2 separate regions of the Homo sapiens genome follow, and region 2 is linked to region 1. The links are contacts of gene promoters, found by promoter capture Hi-C in blood cells and fetal thymus (Javierre and others, 2016). All regions are on one chromosome and are shown on one strand. Each heading gives the region's core, a stretch centred on a gene start or on the middle of the fragment in contact. The rest is flanking DNA. Distances are from core to core; before and after follow the strand shown.

Region 1 (3,298 bases), core at 577-3,076:
GTGTTTGAGGGAATAGTAGAAACATTAATAGAAATGACTAAGTCAAAGAAAATATGCTATATGCAGGAGGAGAGCTTGAATTCAACAAAGCAGATTCCAGGTAGAAATGATCAGTAGGTCTGGAGCAAATAGAATTAGAATTAGGGACAGAAAAGACACAAAAGGTACATGAAAAAGACGAAAGTGCATTGACAAATAATACCTACCAGCCATTTTTCATATTCATTAATAGCTTGTTTATCTTTATCTTTTTTCTCAGCTCTTTTCAGTTCTTCCTTTCTTTTCTCATTTATTTTTTCTTTTTCCTTTTGCTTGAAAAAAGCTTCCTTTTTTTCATTCCTATAGAGCATAGTATAAAACACTGGAGAGTTAAAGGAAAATACATAATAAAGATTCCCTAGTACATCTTTGACAGTAATGAAATTGAAATGCATTACTAAATTTCAAGTAAATAAATTTTATAAAATCCTGAAGTGTTACTATAATTTAAAATATATCAAAATATTTATGATTTTGGATTACCATTTCTCAACAGCAGTTAAATTATCTTTCTTTTTCTCGGCAACAGTTTCCTCCTCTTTCTGTTTCTTTGCTCTTTCATATTCTCTCTCCTTTCTATTTTTCTCTTTAAGATATTCCATCTTTTTCTCTTTCCATTTTTCAAAAGCCTGAAAAAGTTCAGAATAATTTTCTTACTGTGAATATTTGAAAATAAATAAAAATATGGTTAATCATTAATTTGGATTTCAAATGTTTTAAAATAATTAAGATGTGCAAAGTTCTGAATACTTGTAGTGCTTCTCCTTTTCTTGCAGCATTTTCTTCTTCAGTTTTCTTCTTGTTTTTTTCTTCAAGCCTCTTTTTGGCAGCTATTTTCTTTGCTTCCTTTTCTTTCATAGCCTTCCAGGCCTCAAATGATGCTAATGCTTCTTCTCTTTTAGCAGCTTTTTTCTACAGTGGAAAAAATAATAGAGTGATATACATATATATGTATATATACATAGACACAAATATGGCTAGATATAAATATACACATATACATTTATCTTTAGTCCTCTGATATTCATTATACTTAGAAATTAACTTTCAAAGTAGGTAATTTATTTAGAATGGCTTAGATAATTTACAAAGAATGTTATCTGAATTATTCATTGGTTTTAAAACGTCCTTTTCTAAAAACATTTATCACATATTGACCTATTAATGAGAAAGATGTCAACTATTATTTTTGAAAGTGTACTAAACAAATTATATCAAAATAAACTGTAATAGGCTAAGTGGTATAGTAAAATTTTCATAATAAAATATTTGAAAAAAAAATCAGTAAAGTTATGGGCTTATAAAGTAAGTTAGAGTAAGGCAAATTGGCCAAGCCATGCAGTAAGATGCAGATTTTTGGTTTAAATCTTAATTTTGAATAGTATCAAAACATAAAGTTCTTACTGCACAAATGTATTCCAAATGTTGAAAGTATGTGCTCGACTGAAAAATAGGTTGGAGACTGTATAGCAAGTTATGTTATTATTTTACTTCCTTCAATCTAATCCCATAATATTCTATGTTTGCTTTATTGTTCAATATTAAATGACATAAAACCTTAATATTGGGGTAACATAATTTAGAGGTCAAAGTACTATCTACCTCACAGAGCTACGAAAATCAAATGAGAAGGGGTATGGCACTGACCACAGCAGCATACTGCTATGAACGTGGTTAACAGATAGACAGGCACGCCCCCTGGAGGGCTGCTCCCTTCACTACTGACGCATTATCGTGCAGTTCACCTTGGAAAATATTTTTCTTCTAAATCTATTTTTAGTATTGAACAGCACACTGGAGTTTTTGTCCAGAAGTTTGACTTTAGAAGATAAGAAATAACTGAGCGTATTACAAGCAGGAGTTAGAGGAAGAGACTCAGTACAGAAGAGACAGGAACAAAAGTTCACCTCCATTCAATGGGAAAGGATACAGATCAAGAGTTCAGGTAGGGGTTGGACTTGAAGATACTTATAAAATTCAAGAGAGAAAAGAGGAAAATTGAAGGCTAACTAGTGTCTAATGATCCTTTATCTTGTCGTGCCTTTTTTTTTTTTTTTGAGACAGAGTCTCTGTCACCTAGGCTGGAGTACAGTGGCACGATCTCAGCTAACTGCAACCTCCGCCTCCCGGGTTCAAGTGATCCTGCCACCTCAGCCTCCTGAGTAGCTGGGATTACAGGTGCCCACCACCATCCCTGGCTAATTTTTGTATTTTTAGTAGAGATGGGGTTTCACCACATTGCCCAGGCTGGTGTCGAACTCCAGACCTCAAGGAATCCCATCTGCCTTGGCCTCCCAAAGTGCTGGGATTACAGGCATGAGCCACAGTACCTGGCCTTCTTGGTTAAGTTCTAAATGAAATCAACTTTTAAAAGTGAATTAGGTGCTCATAAACAATAATAACTTCATAATCAGCAGGAACAAAGCTATCCTATACATATACAAAATTAAAATCTGTTTTCATGTAAAACAGTTATATCAAACTAAAATGTATAAAGTAAAACAGAAGTAAAACCGGAAATCATTTCTTTAATATACAAGTTATTTTGCCATTTAAAAAGCTGATTTAGAAAAGTTATATATTCAGGGATATTTTACTGAAATAAAAATCCAAAACATTTTTACTTCTATATGTCAGAATACCTGTTCATTTTGGATCCTTAAGTTTTCACTTTCAATTCTTTTTATTCTGTGCATTTCATGTAAATACACATTTTTCTTTTCTAACCACTCCTATAAGAACAAGAAAAAGGTCATATAATATTTAAAATTTCTTAAGTGAATTAGAATTCTTTATATTAACATTTTCTCTGAAATTCACATGTACAATTTTCTAAAGTATACTATTCTACTCTAAAAAAGACAAAAAAAGACTTTTAGAATTGTGAATAAATTAATACAATCTTTTTCCTATGTACGCCTAACAACATCTCAGGAAAGAAAAAATTTAATAACTTTTTGTTCATAATAACTCCTTTTGTTCATATAAACTTCAAGAAGAAAAAAATGAAAACATATATAGACTTTACAATGTTTTGGCTTGTGCTGTATTTCTATAAATTGCAATGGCATATTCTTTCTTTAAAAACAACTATGGTCAGTTATGCAAAGTGTGGAAGCAAATAATTTAGTAAAATATGATTACTCATGTATTAAAAGGAAACTCTTTCTCAATAAATTTAAGTATTAAACCATCATTTTCTATCAGGATTACTTTATTCTTTATAAACAGTGTAGGCTTATGAAAGTGATCATTCTTC
Region 2 (3,298 bases), core at 470-2,969, 380 kb before region 1:
AAATCTTTTAAAAATCACTTATTTATATTTCTGTGATAGATTTTTTTTTTTTGAGACCGGGTCTCACTATCTTTCCCAGGCTGGAGTATAGTGCTACAATGATGGCTCACTGTAGCCTCGACCTCCTGGGCTTGAATGATCTTCACACCTCGGCCTCCTGAGTAGCTGGGACTACAGTTGTGCGCCACCACACTAGGCTAATTTTTGTATTTTTGTTGAGACAGGGTTTTACCATGTAGCCAAGGCTGGTCTTGAACTCCTGGGCTCAAGAAATTCTCCCACCTCTGACTCCCAGAGTGCTGAGATTATAGGTGTGACCCACTGCACCCAGCCAAGATCTAATCTTGATACTGAAAATCTTTTTAAAATCTTGGAAAAACAAATTATGCTGGATGAATCCATAAGAGGTCTTTGTTTTAACTGGAGGTATAACGTTTTTTAAATTAAAAATGGAAAAGTATACTTGAAGTTAGAAACCCAAGCTATATAGTCTAGAGTATTAATTCATGATAGATTCGATAGATGTGTGGAAAAAACTTTCAAGTTCACATACGTTTGGGAAACATGGGACTATATAAAATTTAAAGTGTAATGTTTTTAACTGAATGATATATTAGAATTTTATAATATTTAGTATAAAAATATTAAAGCTTCTCAAACTTGTCATAAAGCCCTTTTTTTTTTTTTTTTTTTTTTTTGAGACGGAGTCTCGCTCTGTCGCCCAGGCTGGAGTGCAGTGGCGGGATCTCGGCTCACTGCAAGCTCCGCCTCCCGGGTTCACGCCATTCTCCTGCCTCAGCCTCCCAAGTAGCTAGGACTACAGGCGCCCGCCACTACGCCTGGCTATTTTTTGTAGTTTTAGTAGAGACGGGGTTTCACCGTTTTAGCCGGGATGGTCTCGATCTCCTGACCTCGTGATCCGCCCGCCTCGGCCTCCCAAAGTGCTGGGATTACAGGCATGAGCCACCGCGCCCGGCCCATAAAGCCCTTTTAATGAGAAATGTCTCTTAGCACTATGGGCCCTGATGTTTCCATAGAACCTGGTGGAGAAATTGCTCTTGTTGGATGTTATCTTCAACTTTATTTTCTGAGAGATTATTGTATCTAATAATTGATGTTATGTGGTGAGTTTGAAGCATTTACTCATTCTCTGTATTCATCTTCTAACCCTTCCCTTTTAACATTGTGTTGTTGTGTTTTAATCGTCCTAGTGGTAGTATGCCTATAAAAAGGTAATAAAACTAACTTTCCAAGCATCTTTAGATGGTATAGGTTAATTGCACAAATATAGGTTAAATGCAAAGTTGAAGAAACTGGACAATGACTGGTATGTCCCTAAACTATTCCCCTTGGAATGGTTCAAGTCTATTCAAATGACATTTCTTTTGTTCAGCAAATTTTTTTAAGTCTAAAATAAAACTGTCAGGTGAGTGAATAATGAATTGCCATGGAGAAGTTTGAGTGGTTTCTGCAGGGTAGGCTAGACATAAAGAAAAGAATGCATTTATCTGATGATTATTTCCCAATGTAGCCTTTATTTTTCTTCTCCTCAAGTTTTCTACAACACTCACGAAGGGACTGATGATTTATTATTAGGAATGTCTAATGATGTTGGGAGATACTTAAAATGAACTTCAGCATGAACCATATATCTAATTGGTAATTTGCTTGGTTAAAAATCCTTTATACTCAGGGCTTAGACCAAAGATTTCGGTTTGTGCTTCCTTTGAGAGCAATGATCTATTCAATATGTCTAACGAAACCATTATAACTATTTGTTATGATGTTAAAATAATTCCATAGTCTCCTATTTTTCTAGTTATCATTCTAATACAATATTTTTTCTCTCTTATATTAGTAATGTTGTTTCAACATTTCAAAAAAATAGTTACAAAGTCCATATTGAAGAGACATATTGCACATTAGTATGTATCACTAGATATTTATATTGAGCATCTTCCTAGTGTTGTTATCTCTTCTTATTTCTTTTGTTTCTGTTTTTCATTAATTCATCTGCTGACTTTTCTTACTTGAGTCACATTTGCAGTTATGTTTCATGCATATAAGCCCCTGAGTCTAGGGCGTTATTAAATCTCATTAAGTAGAAGGATCTTTTTTTTAATAGTGTCTGTCACTTGACCCTTTTGGACAAAGAATAAAATGTGTCAACTTCTTCCTAATGTTTACCCTGAGATACAAAAACACTCCTGAACACATGCTAGTTTTGATTACATTGATAGCTGACATTCATCCAAAATTTTAAGGCTCCAGGGGACTCTAGACAGCATCCTGAGGTTGGCAGAATGAGCCTGGACATGGGGGTCAGTCAAGTCAGGTTTCAATCCCTACGTTTCACACTTAGCAGTTATGTGGCCTTGGAAAATTGCTTACTATTCTGGTATCCAGTCTTCTCATCTATAACAATGGGATAAGTAGTCACAAAATTGACTGCAGGGTAAATGAGACAATATTTCACAGTGCTGGGAGAACATACCTGTTGGTCATTAAATCTTAGTTTCTTCCTTTTGTATTATAGCTGAGGAAGCAGAGGCCCAGAAGAGCTTGAGGGTTTTCCAAGCCTCCATAGATATACTGGCAGAGCTGAGGCCCAGGTCTTCAGACTCCATGTTTTGATTCCACTATTTAATTGATAAGTAATTTTTTACTTTTAGTAAAAATGAAATTATAGAATAAATTGATATATTGTTTGGTAGAAAACCAAAAGCCTGTGATCTAATATAGTGATTTTCACTGGTGCTTGAACCTCACTGCATGTTAGAATCTTCTAGGAAGCTTTAATAAAATCCCACTGACCAGGCCATACCCCACTCTTGTTAAATCATTGTATCTCAGGGTGGGACTCAGGCATGAAATTGTTTTTATAACTCCCTCTGTAATTTCAATGTGATCTTATGCACAGAATTTGCTGACACTGTTGAGATACTTCAAACCATCTGTAAGATAGTTTTAAAAGTTTGTTCTTTTGTCAATAGATCAGGCATCTTGAGGAATATTGTTTTCCTTAAGTGTTTTCTTGTGGGGAGGGGTTGGGGAGAAAAGGATTTATTTCTTGCCCTGCAATGAAACCAGTTGTCAATGAAGTCTGAGATCTGGAGTTGGCAGATCCAAGCCCTACAGCATAGAGCAGAATATAAAAGGGAGGTGGGGCTGGAGCTGAGGACCCCTGGCAAAATCAAGTGCAATGTGAAGCCACTGAGCTCTTTGCTTCCTGGCCTGGAGGTTTCTCACTGACAACAAAATGTCAGGACCATCTCCCTGAGAAAACTGGGAGGCTTTG

Evidence for each region. The method cuts DNA at HindIII sites, captures the fragments that hold promoters and counts their contacts. A CHiCAGO score of 5 or more calls a contact.
Region 2: a contact is called between a fragment that was not itself captured here and the fragment with the promoter of MAP9-AS1 in region 1, in 1 of 17 cell types (endothelial precursors). The highest score is 6.6, in endothelial precursors.

Annotation. Positions count from the first base shown.
Region 1 is chr4:155,352,390-155,355,687 of GRCh38, forward strand. MAP9-AS1 (MAP9 antisense RNA 1) reads left to right here and starts at 1,827. Exons shown (of 3, transcript NR_125937.1): 1 at 1,827-1,984. MAP9 (microtubule associated protein 9) reads right to left here. Exons shown (of 14, transcript NM_001039580.2): 10 at 2,682-2,771; 11 at 790-951; 12 at 523-668; 13 at 207-339. The HindIII fragment of the contact is 4,107 bases long and covers 321-3,298 here.
Region 2 is chr4:154,967,511-154,970,808 of GRCh38, forward strand. No RefSeq gene overlaps it. Among named protein-coding and RNA genes, the nearest start is that of RBM46, 190 kb to the left of the region's middle. The HindIII fragment of the contact is 2,143 bases long and covers 649-2,791 here.